Regions from separate parts of the Homo sapiens genome. Here all the other regions are linked to region 2. The links are contacts of gene promoters, found by promoter capture Hi-C in blood cells and fetal thymus (Javierre and others, 2016). All regions are on one chromosome and are shown on one strand. Each heading gives the region's core, a stretch centred on a gene start or on the middle of the fragment in contact. The rest is flanking DNA. Distances are from core to core; before and after follow the strand shown. Region 1 overlaps AGPAT3 (1-acylglycerol-3-phosphate O-acyltransferase 3). Region 2 holds the start of RRP1 (ribosomal RNA processing 1). Region 3 overlaps AGPAT3 (1-acylglycerol-3-phosphate O-acyltransferase 3).

Region 1 (5,032 bases), core at 1,484-3,983, 160 kb after region 2:
GGGGCTGGGCTTCCCTCCCATATCCAAGGGTGAGCGCTGCCATAATAGCAGGAGGTTCTGTTACCAGCAAAGGGGGTAGTGGCAGGTAGGTAACTCACAGTGACTTGCATGTTGCAAAAGGCGGGGTTCTGTTATCCGGAATTGGAGGAGTGGTTTTAGGTATGTCATATAATTATGCCTTTAAATCCATTGGTTGAGAAAACAGGCAATGCTAAAAGATTCTCATGAACCTAGCAGCGGTTTTAATTTTGTATTTTATTTATTTTATCAGTATCTAAATACAATAGAAATATAAATACAATAGAAATGGAATGGATCATGTGAGATGTGTGTTGTTGACGAACGTGTAGTCAGTGCTTCATGCACATGGGATCCAAGTCCCCAAACAGTGGCTGCAGATCCACACCCTGCTCCAGGTGCTGAGGTGCCCCAGACAGCTGCTCCTAGTCAGTGAAGCATTGACTCTTTAGTCTCAATTGTTGGTCTGCATGTCTACTGATAAGCCGGTACTGTGCTGTTTTAATTATTGAGGCTTTCTAGATGTTGTAGTGTATTTTAGGGCTATTTTCTTGTTCTTTTTCATGATTTTCCTGGCTTTTCTTCCCTGTTTAGTTTTCCATATGAACTATAGAATCAGTATGTCTAGTTCTGGGGCTGGGGGGGAGCTTTTGCTATTTTAATTAGGATTCAGTTATATATTTAGGTTTATGTATCATTTACATATTACTATCTAACAAACCACCTCAAAATGTATCAATTTAAAACAACCATCATGTCGGGGGGCCCTCAATTCTGTGGGTCAGCAATTTGGGTTGGGCTCAGCAACATGGTTCTTCTGCTGGTTTCCCCTGGGGTCATTGGAGTGGCTGTCGTCAGCTAGAGCTGCCTGGAGAACCTCAGGTGGAATGGCCCATTTCTGGTCCATTTCTGCTCCATGTGGGACCACCTTCTGTCAGACTAGCCCAAGCCACCACCTCTGATGGCCACAAGGGTGTAAGGGAGTGGCAACGCTCTAAAGACTGTCTTGGAAGTCCTGTGACACCAATCCCACCACATTCTATTGATAGGGTGAGCCCTGAAGTCAACCTGGGTTCAAAAGGGTGGGGAGTAGACTCCATGTCTTGGCAGGAGGAGCTGCACGTTACTAAGGGCATGTGTTCAGGGAAGGGGTGGTTGCAGCCTGGTCACACGGGGTTTTTCCATTTGTTCAGCTCTGCTTTTGTATCTTTCAAGATGTTCTGTGGTTTCCTCATAGAGGCTTTATTTCCTCTGAAGCTTTTGTTTAGGTATTTTCTCTTTCTTATTGCAATCTGCGCTCTCCTTCAAGACACCTTCTGCTTTTGTGTGTTCCTGTGGAGGGGTGGTCTGCTGGGCCCCTCTCCTTGGCTCCTGAACACACAAGGGGATCATATATCCATATCCTCCCAAGCTGTAAGCACTTGCGCTGGGCTGCAAACTTGCATCCTACTTGCCGTAGAGGACAGCCCTTCCCCTAAACTTCCAGTTTCCCCCTCTCCCACCTGCCTGAAAGGCACCAGCCAGGCAGTCTTGGAAGCCTCGTGTTGAAGGTGGTGGAGCCCCCAGAGCCTGGGCCCAGATGACCATGTGGGACAGAGCTGCCAGTGACCTAGAGCCATTAAGAGAGCAAGAGATAAACTCTGTGATTGTCTTGGTCTCTTCTGACTGATTCGGAGGCCACTGCAGTCTGCATGTTGTACATTATTCCTGTTAGCATCACTATCAACTCTAGTTCCTGTTGTAGTAGATTTGGATTCTCCTGGGTATTGAGGCTACACAATCGTCTGCACAGACTGACAGTTTCACCTCCTCCTGCCAGACTTTTAGTCTCCTGCTAATTCCAAATGCTGATAAGGTTGGGCTGGCAACAATTTCATATTTTTCAGGCTTATGAAGAGGTAAGGTGGTCTCTGTAAGTGAATTTACCCAAGAACTGAAATTTGCCCTTTAAACCTCAAAATAGGATTGTGTTTGTTTCATCTAAAATTTTAGTTGAATGCTTAGTAGTATCTTCGCTGCTTACCAGACTTCTCAGATAATGTGGTAACTGTGACGCCGCCCTCTCTCAGCATTCGGACGAGATCAGCGTGGGCCACAGTCACCGCATTGTGCCCTCATGCGTGATGTCAGAGAGCCTGCAACCGCGCCCCCGCTGCTCAGTGGCCTCCAAGGGGCCTCAAGTCCTGGGCTCGTTTCTGCCCCAGGTAGTGCTGTCAGCGGCATGCCTGCCTTCTGCAAGCCCCTCTTCCCTGTTCCCCAGCCCGCACTTCCAATGAGCTGTGGGCCAGGAAACCAGCCCGTCACACTTGTCCACGCTGCGTTTAAAGCGGGAGGAAGGAGGACCCAATGCAGGGCCCGAAAGGTCCACTGTGAGTGAAGTCTTTTTCCTTATGGGACACCTAGGCTGGCTTCTCAGAAAGTGTGTGCAGTTTATTTCCGGGTTCTTGGCGGTGTTCTGAATAGTAAACGTTGCCACCTAAATGAAGACCCTTTGAGATATCACTGCGTCTCTACTGTTCCTGATGGTGGACTTTCTCCTCCAGCGTCTGCTGACAGTAACAGTGGAGCTTTCCCCAGCACCCAAGAGCCCGGGGCTCACCGTGGTCCCCTCCTGTGCAGCCAGCACACAAGGCCCTCCCGTGCCACCACCTCGCAGGGGCCAGGTCTGCTCGGCCCACTACACCAGAGCCCTTGGGTGCGGGGTGGGCGGGACAGAGAAGAGGAAGGGGGGAAGGAGGGAGCTGACAGCCGTTTCTCAGTTCCCCATTATGGACTTGGATTTGGATCACTGAAATCCATATGGAACTAAGAAGTTATCTTTATCCCACAACTCAAAACTCCTGTCTAGAGCATCAGAAATGATGTGCTTTTGGCATCCTGAAATGTCTTTCTCCTCCGCCAACTGCTGTCTGCTGAGAGCTAGCCTTGCTCTCGGAAGGGCGGCTTGGGCAGGGCAAAGGGAGAATTCCAGGGTTTGGGAGCATCTGCTGATCCCAGAATAGTTGCCAGTGGTGACATCTTCTTCCTGGACCCCAGGACCCAAGGACAGCAGGTCCCATCCCAGCTCTGCCCAGCTCCTGCCCCTGCACAGAGCAGGACGCCAGCTGGGGTGGGCACTCTGTGGCGTTTTGGGAAGATAGTGCTATATTTCAGAGGCTGTGCCATCTCCTCTGGGGGATTTCAGCGCTGGTGACAGAGGCATGAAAGGCTCATGGATAGACAAACTGGTGTTTACCCCTCATAGAAACGAAGTTGCCGTCCTATGTGTGCAGAGAAAACCAGGGACTCCTCTGTTCAGAAGGAAGAAATGGAGGGGCCTGGTGGGCCTGGCAGCGGTGCGGAGGTGGTGGGCTCGGAACTGTAGTTTCCATTCCATAAAAAGGCGTCTTCGGAAAGGTTGGGGATTTTGGCAAAGAAGGGGGGTCTCTGGGGAGACTGCATGTGGGTGAGATCCTCTGCCTGGCCGGTTTTGGAGGAAGAGGGTCACAGGGACCAGCGACGGGGAGGAGGGTCCACATGCTGCAGCGAAGGACCTGGGGCAGGCAGGGGGTGGGCTGGATGGCGGAACACGGGGATGGGCCCGTACCTCTCCAGAACTACGGACCTGGGATGAGGCGGCCTGTGAGTGCGATTGGGCTGTGTGACGGCACCAGAGGCGGGGCTGCAGCTGCAGGCTTTTGTCGTCCTGTGGTCCTGGAGGCTGCAGGTCCAAGGTCAAGGATTCCTTCTGAGGCTTCTCACCCGGGCTCTGACTGCAGGCGGTCTCCCTTTTTCATAAGGACACCGGTCAGATGGAATCAGCGCCCACCCTGATGATATCATTTAACTTAATTACTGTGTTAAAGGCCCTGTCTCCAAATAAGGTCACATTTCGAGGACCTGGGCATTACCTTTGTGGAAGGAACTCAGTTCACCCTAACAAAAGGTGGCAGAATTGGGTGTGGGCGTGTGGGGCTGGGCTCTGATTGGCAAGCAGTGCTCTGGCCCTGCCCAGGCAGAGGCAGCCTCGTGCCTCACCTTTGCTCCCCTGATCTAAGAAGGTGCACACCCCGGTAGCTTGTGCAGGGGCCAGGACAAAACCCAAGAAGCAGCCATCACGCCCCAGGACCAAGATGTGCTGGCGCCAGGCTTCCGGGCAACCTAAATCTGTTGTTTAATGAAGACGCGCTGGCACCAAGCTTCTGGGCGACCTAAACCTGTTGTTTAATGAAGGGGCTCAGAAGCAACTCAGTGTCCTCAGTGTCTCGGTGGCATCTGAGCAGCCATGAAAAGGTGCCATGGGGACTGGAGAGGCCCACTGTCACACCTCCCAGCCCCAGCCCCAGAAATCAGATGGAGCCCCAGAGGTCCCACCCCTGAGGTCCCACCCTGTGTGGCTCTTCTATCCCAGGCGTTCTCCAAGGTCCCCAGGGTGCTGGGGGCTGCCCAGGCTATCTGCTGCGGTCAGGGTGTCAGTGGTGCCACCATAACCAAGTGAGGCGAGGTTCCACATCGCCGGCCAAGTGGCTTTATGGGCCTCCAGTGGGATGTGGCAGGAAGTACCCAGCGGCTCTGCCATGCATTCTTGACCAGAAATGTTGAACCCGAGTTAATTGTGAGGAAACGGACAAATCCAGGGTGTGGGGCACGCCGCAGAGAGCTGCCTTAGCCGCTTCAACACCATCAGGCCAGAGTAGGCGGGGAGCGTCTCGGGGAAAGGGGACAGAGAGACGTGCCATCCAAATGCATGTGTGTCCTCCACGGGGCCCTGCATCCCCGCAGCTAGGAAGGTCATCTGGGGACAGTTGGTGAAATGGAAACAGGGACGGGATGTTCGGCAGTATTCTGTCGGTATTCATTTCTTGGGTGTGCTCATGGTGTCCTAGTGAGCAGGCTGTCCTGATTCGTAGGAGATGTGGACGGACATGGAGGGAGTGCCGTGACGTAGCCCAGGAGACCTTTTTAGCTTAAAGCCTGTGCATAAGAAATAGGCAAGTGAGTTTTAGATGTTCATACATATTTCATTGCAGAATAT
Region 2 (5,072 bases), core at 510-3,009:
CCCGGGCGACAGAGTGAAACTGTCTCAACAACAACAACAACAACAAGAACTAATTCAGATTCTAAAACCAGTTGCTAAATGTTTCCTTTTTTTTTTCTTTTTAGACAGAGTTTCAAAATCTGTCGCCCAGGCTGGAGTGCAGTGGCCGGATCTTGGCTCACTGCAACCTCCGCCTCCTGTGTTCAAGCAATTCTCTTGCCTCAGCCTCCCGAGTAGCTGGGATTACAGGTGCTCGCCACCACACCCAGCTAATTTTTGTATTTTTAGTAGAGATGGGGTTTCACCATGTTGGCCAGGATGGTCTCGAACTCCTGACCTCGGGTGATCCACCTGCTTTGGCCTCCCCAAGTGATGGTTGGGATTACAGGCATGAGCCACCACTGCCAGCCTTTTCAACTTTTTATGAAAAATTTCATACATAGAAAATGTCAGAAGATAGGTCAATGAAGACCTGTATTCCTGCCTGTAGACGCCACACTTGTATTTTTTTGAGACGGAGTCTCACTCTGTCACCCAGGCTGGGGTGCAGTGGCGCGATCTCGGCTCACTGCAAGCTCCGCCTCCGGGGTTCACGCCATTCTCCTGCCTCAGCCTCCTGAGTAGCTGGGACTACAGGCGCCCGCCACCACGCTCAGCTAATTTTTTGTGTTTTTAGTAGAGACGGGGTTTCACCGTGTTAGCCAGGATGGTCTCGATCTCCTGACCTCATGATCCGCCCGCCTCGGCCTCCCAAAGTGCTGGGATTACAGGCGTGAGCCACCGCGCCCGGCCAACGCCACAACTGTTAACAGTGTGCCATAGTTGCTTATCTGCATACACATATGTGCGTGTAATGATTTACTTTTTTGCAGAATGAATTACAGACATCATGACAGGTCACCTTTACCAAAGAGTTCTGCAGTTATTTCTAAAAATAAAGAATATTTTTCTACTTCAGGGTATGTCAAACTGTGGCCCTAGGCCAAATGCAGCCTCCCCGTTTTTTTTTTTGTTGTTGTTTTTTGAGACAGAGTCTCACTCTGTCGCCCAGGCTGGAGTGCAGCGGCGCAATCTCGACTCACTGCAACCTCCGCCTCCCGGATTCAAGCAATTCTCCTGCCTCAGCCTCCTGAGTAGCTGGGATTACAAGCGCCCGCCACTACGCCTGGCTAATTTTTGTATTTTTAGTAGAGACAGGGTTTCACCATGTTGGTCAGGCTGGTCTCAAACTCCTGACCTCGTGATCCACCCGCCTCAGCCTCCCAAAGTGCTGGAATTACAGGCGTGAGCCACCGCGCCCGGCACACCCCTGGTTTTAAAAATAAAGTTTCGAGCCGAGAGTGGTGGCGCCCGTGGTCCCAGCTCCTCGGGAGGCTGAGGCTGGGGGATCCCTGGAGCCCGCGAGGCAAAGGCTGCAGTGAGCCGAGATCGCGCCTTGCACTCCAGCGTGGGTAACAGAGCGAGACCCTGTCTCAGGAAAAAAATACAAGTGGGGTTATAAATAAAATGAGATTAAAAAACAACAGATCTTTGCCTCAGAATCCCGACCCACCGCAGCCCCAGCGAGGCGCAGGCGCAGGCGCAGGCGCGCGCTCGCTGGTTCCGCCCATGCGCACAGGCAGGGAGCGCGCGCCCCCTCTGTAGCCTTCGGCCTCCGGGGGCTGCAGTTGCGCGGCTCGGCCACTGCGCGGCGGTGGCGTGCGCCTGGGCGGTGTCGCGGGCTGTGACGTCACGCCACGCGCCGGGGCCAGGAGGAGGCGGGCGCAGGAGGCGCGTGCTCAGTGTGCTGGGTACCAGGCGACTCCGGGACAGGGGGTCTCGGCCGTCGGCGTCATGGTTTCGCGCGTGCAGCTCCCGCCTGAGATCCAGCTGGCTCAGCGCCTGGCGGGGAATGAGCAGGTGACCCGGGACCGGGCGGTGAGGAAGCTCCGGAAATACATCGTCGCCAGGACTCAGCGGGCCGCAGGTTGGCGGGGGTGTGGGCGGCTGGCGTCTCGGGGGCCGGCTGGGCTGGTGCGGGTGTGGGCGGCGGCGGCCGGAGCTGGGGGCCCTCCGAGCCCTGTGGAACCTCCACGTGGCCGGGCCGGGCAGGCGGGGTCCACTGGCCTGTTCCCGCTGTTACCGGCCCACGGCCCCCGCCGCCGCTTTCCCTCGTGGTGCGGTGACTCTGGTCCCTCTGCGAGAACGCTCCTCCCCAGCCCCGTAACCCCTTTCCTAGCTCAGGCGTCCCCTCCCTCCAGTAGACCATGTACTCCTGCTGCCCTGCTGTTTGGGCACCCAGTATTTTTCCCTCATGGCAGCATTTCCCACTGTTTGCAGTTTTCTGTTTTGCGTTAATTATTGGATTGTTTTCCGATTTCCACTCGAGAGTACCTCTCTGAGGGCCGAGAATCTACTTCTTGTTCATGGTACCAGGTGGTTCTCCGAGCGTGGTCCCCCATCAGCAGTAGCATCCCCTGGACATTTGTTAGAAATACACGTTCTATGCCGGGCGCAGTGGCCCAAGCCTGTAATCCCAGCTACTTGGCACGTCGATGTGGGAGGATCACAAAGGCCCAGGAGTCCAGCCTGGGCAACATAGCAAGACTCCATTTCCATCGCAAAAGAAAAGAAAGAAATGCAAGTTCTAGGATCCCAGCCCTACTAAATCAGGACTGGCATCTGCTTTATGAAGCTGTTCAAGTGCTTCTGCTCCCCACACTCAGCCTGAGAACCACTGCTGCAGGAACAGGTTGCCAGACACATAGGACTTCAGTGAATGTCAACTGAGTAATGTTTTAAATTAAAATTTTTTGTTATTTTTCTGAGTGAGACAGACCTCACTGTCATCCGTGGTGGAGGAGTGCATTGGCACGATTACAGCTCACTGCAGCCTCTACCTCCCAGGCTCAAGTGAGCCTCCCATCTCAGCCTCCCCAATAGCTGGGACTACTGGCACCGTGCGGCCAGGCCAGCTAAGTTTTGTATTTTTTGTACAAATTGGGGTCTTCCTATGTTGCCCAGACTGGTCTTGAACTCCTGGCCTCAAGTGATCCTGCCTCAGCACTCAATTCCAAAGTGCTGGGAGTACAGGCGTGAGCCACCGCACCTGGCCTCAGTAATTTCTGTTTCTCTCGTAGTCTGAATGCCTGAGTTCACTTTCTTCTTTTAGTATTTGAGATATATTACAGGAGAGTGCAGAAGCCCTCAGTATAATGCTGGATGAATTATCACCAACAGATTAACCTTGTGGCCACTGTCCAGCTTAGGAAACCGTCAAGGTTCGCAATTTTGAATTTCCAAAATGGAGTATGGTGCCTGATACCTTGTAGATCTCAGTCGGTTTTACTGTGTGCGTGAAGTAGCAGTTACCTGGAGTAGCCGCATAGCCACAGGCGCGGCAGGTTCTGGGTTAGAAGGATTGTTTGAAGGGGAGGGCCAGATTCTGCCCCCCAGTTGCCTTTACCGTAAGTGGGACTTTGGTCTCATTCAGGCAGTCACGTTTCTGTGGCTTCCTTTCTGGCACTCGAAGGTGTGGGATTCATTTGGTCCAACCGTTGCTGTTTTGATGCAGGTGGTTTTACGCACGACGAGCTGCTGAAGGTGTGGAAAGGACTGTTTTATTGCATGTGGATGCAGGACAAGCCACTCCTCCAGGTGAGTGGGGGGAGCAGCAGAGCAGGTACAGAAGCAGCGGGGGAGGATGGATGGGCATCTGGTCAACCCAGTTTTTCTTTTTTTTTTAAGTCGGAGTTTCGCTCTTGTTGCCCAGGCTGGAGTGCAGTGGCTCAATCTCGGCTTACTGCAACCTCAGCCTTCTGGTTTCAAGCAATTTTCCTGCCTCAGCCTCCCAAGTAGCTGGGAGTACAGGTACCTGCCACCATGCCTGGCTAATTTTTTGTATTTTTAGTAGAGACAGAGTTTCATCATGTTGGTCAGGCTGGTCTCGAACTCCTGAGCTCAAGTGATCCTCCCATCTCGGCCTCCCAAAGTGCTGGGATTACAGGCATGAGCCACCGCGCCCGGCCTGGTCAACCCAGTTTTAATATGGCCAGAGACCGTGGGGAGGTCGTATAGCCTTGACGCTTGGTTCGGCACGGCTGGTGGGCCTGGGCCTTTGTTAGGTGAGTCTTACACTTGCTGAGGTGTTGATGTGATTGACTGAGCCGTGCACTGCAGCAGCACTGGCATGGGTGAAAACTGGGTTTTGTGTTTGTCCTGGGTTGCAAACAAGTGCTGAAATAGTGGAAACCACGGGGCGGAATTCAAGTCTCCTGAGACAAGGACGTCTCCTGCTAGCCTTTTCCAAACATTGTTTCTCAAATTGTGAATTTTGTGCTCTCCTTCAAAATCTCCTGGGTGGTGAGGGTACTTAGTTAAGTTCAGGTTCCTGGGCCATATTCCATGCCCACTGAATTATCAAGGGGAGGCTGTGAAATGTCCCTTAGCAAGTATTCTGGGCGATGGCTGGCACGGTGATGTAGGCAGATAGCCAGTGATCTATGGGGTCTCGCAGCCCTCTTCCTCCTGATGGTTAGGGGGCTGTGAGTCCCAAGGCTCCCTTCCGCTCTCCCACGTCCCTCTTTAACCGTGACTCTGTGGCTTAGGGCACAGCCTCTGTCAAGAGGGCAGTGCCTGCTGTGGTTGTGTGAGAGGCTGTTGACCCCAGCTGTCTAGAGGGGCCTCCCGTGGTTGTGTGAGAGCCTGTTGACCCTGGCTGTAGAGGGGTCTTTTGGAGCAGGGGTGAAACCTCCAGTGCACTGAGCTGAGACCCCCTGGAAGCCGACTCTCTGTGATGAGTGAGTGAGTGAGTGGGTGAGTGGGTGGTTGCGTGTGTGTCATTGTGAGAGCCTGGTGCTTCAGGGGCTGAGGGCGTTTTTGTTGTTTCCTACACAGGAAGAATTAGGAAGGACTATTTCCCAGCTCGTTCATGCTTTTCAGACCACGGAGGCGCGTGAGTATGCTCTGCTGTAGTTGGGTGCATTTGTAGATGTCAGAACCTCTGAGCATCAGAGCCACCAGACCCAGGAGGTTTGTGTTCTCAAATCCAGAGTAAGGAATGCCTAAGGGCAAGAGAGCGCCAGCTGGTGTCTGTGGGTGCTTAGCATGTGTGC
Region 3 (4,732 bases), core at 59-2,558, 200 kb after region 2:
TAGGATGCTTCAGAAGAAGCGACGGCACCGTCAACCCTCTGTTTTTTAAAGGTGGTTGGAGACTGTTAACACTGAGCTCATTGACTTCTAGAGATTTTATTTTTACTGGTTGATCTCTTGGTGGTTTTCAACTTCCTGCTGGAAACTAGAGGTGGGGCACCCCCCACCCCCCAGCCTCGCACTGTGTCCTTGGGGAAGGCCCGCCCCCATCCTGGCCGGTGTCACTGTGGCCCGGCCACCCCTGAGCGCCCAGCTCCCTACCTCCTGGACGTCTCTGAGAGTCCAGGCAGAGCAGAGGGCAGCGCTCGGCCGGTCATGCTGGCTCCCTTGGCCTTGCAGCGAGCCCCTGGCCCACGCCGAGCGAGGGATGCTTCTCCCTACAGCATGTCCACTCCCCCGGCATGGCCAGGTGGGGCCCCTGGGGCAATGGCAGTGGTAGAACGCTCAACTTGGTTGCGGTACCATCAGCCCACCTGCATTTGGCTTTCGACTTGCTTGTTCTAAGTCACAGCGCCCTCATCTTTTTAGCAAGGTAAAAAAACCAAAATGGGTGTTATCTCTGATATCTTGAAACCAGCGTTCTGAATAGAGGTAGGTTGAGTTTTCTAGGGGAAAACAAATGGAGAAAAGAGGCATGAAGAAAAGTAAACCGAGAACATAATTAGGCATCGGGCCTAAGTGTCCTGGGGAGATTGGAGGGGACGGCAGCGTTCTGCATGATGGAGGCGCTGCCGGGCCCCGGGTCTGTGGGGGCCGTGCTCTCAGGGCGTGTGCGGGACGCCACCTGTGCACACCTGCTCAGAGCACGGCTCCTCGCAGGGGTGAAGGGGCAGACCAACGAAACCAGATGAGACCAACGACACCATGCGAGACACGCTTGCAGACACTGTTGTTTTGGAAATGTGCTTCCCTCCATCTGAAATCTCATCCCTCCACCCGCCCACTCGGGCAGCTGTGCCGTGGGCAGGGCATGCGCTCCCCTGGCTGAGCACCCCAGAGATTCTCCTGCACCTTCCTCATGCCGCACGCTGCTCATCCGTCTCCATGTGTGTTTAGATCCATGCCATTCACTGACTCACTAACACCTGCAAAATCTTTAAGGAAAAAAGCTGAAGGGTACGACCATGCACATATGTGACCTGGAAAATGCAAATTTAGATCTTTTATGATTTAATTATTATTGTTTCCCATAGAAGTTCCCTCCCTTTGAAATTAATATATAATGTATAAATTCTGCACTGAGCCATGGCGGAGCTGGGCAGCCCCTAGGTTAGAGTGGAGACGGAGGCCCAGGCGCAGGGGTCACACCTCATCTGGTTTCCTTCCCATCTCACAGCTTAGCTTGTGCTTCTCAACACCAAGTCTTTAAGAGCAATAAAAACTACACCATGAATGTTTGAATTTTTTTTTTTTGGGGGGGGGAGGGTGGATTTTGCTTTTCATCCAGAAGGAAAAGGGGAGGAGAGCTCCTTTACATTTTTTAAATTAAATTCATAAATCCCAGAACAGTCTTTTTTTTTTCTTTTTCCTTTACACCCTACTTCTGAGCTTAATTCAGTTGATGTTATGTCCAAATTCAGGCTGAGTGCTCAGGCTGAAGCAACTCTGTAGCCCACAGTCCGTGCTGGCCACTGTCGGGGTGAGGCACATTCTAGGCCTGGCATCGCTGATGCCCTCTGCACCCAGTCCTTGAGCCAGGCCGAGGACAGGAAGGGCATTGCTGGCCTGTAGCTCCTGTTACCCACCCAGAGCCAGGCGCCACACTGGAGGCTCCCAGGCGGGAGGGCCCAGGCCCACCCACGGGCGTCTGGCCGGTCAAGCTCCCAGCCTGGGCCGTGGTCTCCTGGGGACGCCGCTGGCCTCCCAGCTTAGGCCCAGGTGCCAGGTGTCATGGGGTCTCCTGCCCATCTTCCCAAGGATGCCATTGCTGTCTTCATCGTCTTCCCCCGTGTGAGACACTGGTTGTCTGGTACTCGGCGACAGTGTACCAGACGCGCACCCTATGTGAGGTGCTTTAAGGTCCCTGTCCTCAGGAAGCGCAGTCTGGTGGAAGAGATGAGCGCTGAACAAATCACTAAATAACACAAAACAACAATGTAAGCAGCACTTTCTTGTGTAAAAAAAAAAAAAAAGCACGTCCTGTCGATGAATTTTGAGTCTCTCTGCCTTGCCTGTCCCGACTCCCTTTCGCGCACCGTGGCATGAGAATCTTTCCTCACGCTGTTCGTTGCGGTATTGCTGAGCATTGATGTTGATTTGAAGGAAAAGCCGTGGTTGGACCCAGCTGTGTGTTTCACTCACGTGCAATTGAGTAGCTGTTGCCAGGCTGTCCATGCCTGTTGTGACTACCGGTTGGGGTCAGATTTGGGGTGAAGAATGAGTAAGTTTCTGCATGCTTTGTCTCTACCTGAGACACTTCTACAACAAGCCAAGTATAATCTCTCCAGCCCTGCAGATTTTCACCTGACTTGTTCAGCCCCATGCGTAGACTCCCGCTGCAGGCCTCTGGCCTGTGGCTCACTGCATGCAGCCCCTGGCGTGCAATACTAGTGCTCCACGGCGCGATGTGCTTCTAGCCCTTGCACTGCACCTAGGCTCAGGGTTCAAACGGCCAGCCCGAAAAGCCTGCCTGCCTTCTTTCTGGAAACAGCACGTCCCCGGCCGTGTGCCTGCCCCTTTCTCTACTGAGCTAGTCCCCAAACCAAAGGCAAGCCCCCTCGGGCCTCGGGGGATGGGGCCGGCCACACCCCTGACTCCGCCCTGGCTCTGCCCCATACCCCTGCCGTGGGGCCGACCTGGGGGATGCAGACATCCGGCTCCGTATTCCTGCCTATCGGGGCCAGGATGCAAAAACAATTTTTGCGTAAAAGATGTCACACTGATCTGCTGGAGTGGGGTGGACACATGAATTCAGTTTTATCATGAACACTCGCCACTGGCTGCTTGTTAATTCAGGGATAATGGTGGCATTCTTACAAACTGCTCGGGAAATAGAATGACGGGAACACTTTTAGGGAGCCCAGGAAGTTACCAGGGACATTGGTGTCGCCGGCCCAGGCAACAGCAGCGTACGCTTTTCAAAGATCATTGAGTTGTCTTAGAATTTGAAGCTGTGTAATGACAATGTCACCTGGAGTTCGTCTCCATTTCTTAACTTTTTGTTGCACAAGTATTTGGACAGAAGTCGAACTGTGAATGAGATACTGAAATGCACTAAATTGTATTACATTAAACTGGAGTTACTTGATACAATGAAGAAATGCATCTGATCTACTTGTATTTATTGTCTCAGAATTGTACGTTGTGACAATCAAATGTTACTTGCCTAAATGCCAGGAAATTCAACTGGCCTTTTAATCAGCAAGATCGCCAGCAAGTACTGTAACTGTAAAGGAAAATCTCTCTCTCTGGAGAACCCACACAAACCATTGACCTGAGTGCGCATGACAGCCACTGGCTTCTTTTTCTATGATTGAAAATCTGCCATCGCTGACTGTTGGCCAGTTTCAAAGGGACCCATTGTATACAGGGTGCAAATGTATTATACGGATGTTTCCTTTTGTACACTTCATTTTTACAAGTTTTGCTACTCACAAGCTTTATGTAGTGGAGGATAGAGGTATTTTTGGTCTTTAGAAGCTTGTCGGGGTGAGGGCTGCTAACTTACACTTCAGAGGCCTGTGTCCCAAAGGCCTGGCTGCGTTTGCCGTGCTGTGCGAGGACCTGTGTACACAGGCAGGTGTGCGCCTGCCCGAGCGCGAGTAGCTCTTGTGTAGTGGTGAAATGCTGCAGGCATCTGTTTATTAAAATTGCTGCTGTGAAAGACAGGGATAAAATATCCACAATATAAGAGAAAGCGACTCCGTGCCTCCTTCTGTTTCTTCGTTTCCAGTCTGCATAGATGTCTCCAAGGGGAAACCAGGGCCACCAGGCACTCCTGTCCCATGGGGCCACCCACCTTCAGAGCCCACTCCCACGGGCTCTGTTTCCTTGGAGGCCATCCTGCCGATGGCACTTTTCAAGGCCCTCCCTTCCCTACGAGTTGCTTTCTGGGAGGGGAAATTGAAAAGGAGAGCGGTCACCTGGCAAAAACACAGGGGAAATCAGCCAGTCCACAAAAATACGCAAAATGACCTGATGATGTCCAAAAAAGGGTTTTAAAAGCGATCAAGGACAAAAGGTTTTCCTAAGTGGCATGTATACATCCAAAACTACTCTTTTTTTGTAAAAACATTCATCTGTGGAGAAAACCAAGGAACCCCTTTCTCTTCTTTATTAAAAAGCAAAACAAAAACTCTTGTTAGAACCAAAAGATATTCCGAGTTCTCGTTTCGTGTCTTCTAAAAATAAGCTAAGCTGAAGAGTCTGGGTGTCCACATGCTCCTGGGAATGGCCCTGGCAACCTTGGTGACATGCTCTCTGCTCCGGGGCTGCCTCCTTCCCTAATGGCATCAGTGAGGGTGACAGGTCCATGCTGGTGCTTAGCCCAGCTCCTGAGAAGCTGGGAAGGCCTGGCTCAAAGTCCTGCGTCCAGATGCCATTTATTTTTTAAAATATATCCTGAAGTCAGAGCACCCAGAATTTTGCATGATGTTCTGTTGTTTTCTCGGGAGATGAAAGTGAAGTGCCTGGTGCCACTTGGTATGGGGATGTCATGGGTGGGTCAGGCCTTGCCCTCTAACAAGAGGGACTGACTTGCCTGAACCCCACTTCGCCTGTTTGAACACAAGTG

Evidence for each region. Contacts are between HindIII fragments. The CHiCAGO score rates a contact against its expected background, and 5 or more counts as called.
Region 1: a contact is called between a fragment that was not itself captured here and the fragment with the promoter of RRP1 in region 2, in 1 of 17 cell types (endothelial precursors). The highest score is 6.3, in endothelial precursors.
Region 3: a fragment that was not itself captured here is called in contact with the fragment with the promoter of RRP1 in region 2 in 11 of 17 cell types (endothelial precursors, activated CD4 T cells, M1 macrophages and 8 more); the score reaches 13.5 in endothelial precursors.

The regions. Positions count from the first base shown.
Region 1 is chr21:43,948,488-43,953,519 of GRCh38, forward strand. The region is part of intron 2 of AGPAT3 (1-acylglycerol-3-phosphate O-acyltransferase 3); the gene reads left to right. Among named protein-coding and RNA genes, the nearest start is that of TRAPPC10, 61 kb to the right of the region's middle. The HindIII fragment of the contact is 2,921 bases long and covers 1,274-4,194 here.
Region 2 is chr21:43,787,818-43,792,889 of GRCh38, forward strand. It overlaps RRP1 (ribosomal RNA processing 1), which reads left to right and starts at 1,760. Exons shown (of 13, transcript NM_003683.6): 1 at 1,760-1,945; 2 at 3,533-3,615; 3 at 4,855-4,912. The coding sequence starts at 1,813. RefSeq lists silencers at 1,561-1,790, 2,001-2,170, 4,110-4,322 and an enhancer at 1,821-1,930. The HindIII fragment of the contact is 31,682 bases long and covers 1-5,072 here.
Region 3 is chr21:43,983,281-43,988,012 of GRCh38, forward strand. It overlaps AGPAT3 (1-acylglycerol-3-phosphate O-acyltransferase 3), which reads left to right. Exons shown (of 10, transcript NM_020132.5): 10 at 1-4,312. Among named protein-coding and RNA genes, the nearest start is that of TRAPPC10, 27 kb to the right of the region's middle. RefSeq lists enhancers at 1-211, 2,664-3,194 and a silencer at 1,844-1,903. The HindIII fragment of the contact is 4,574 bases long and covers 1-3,595 here.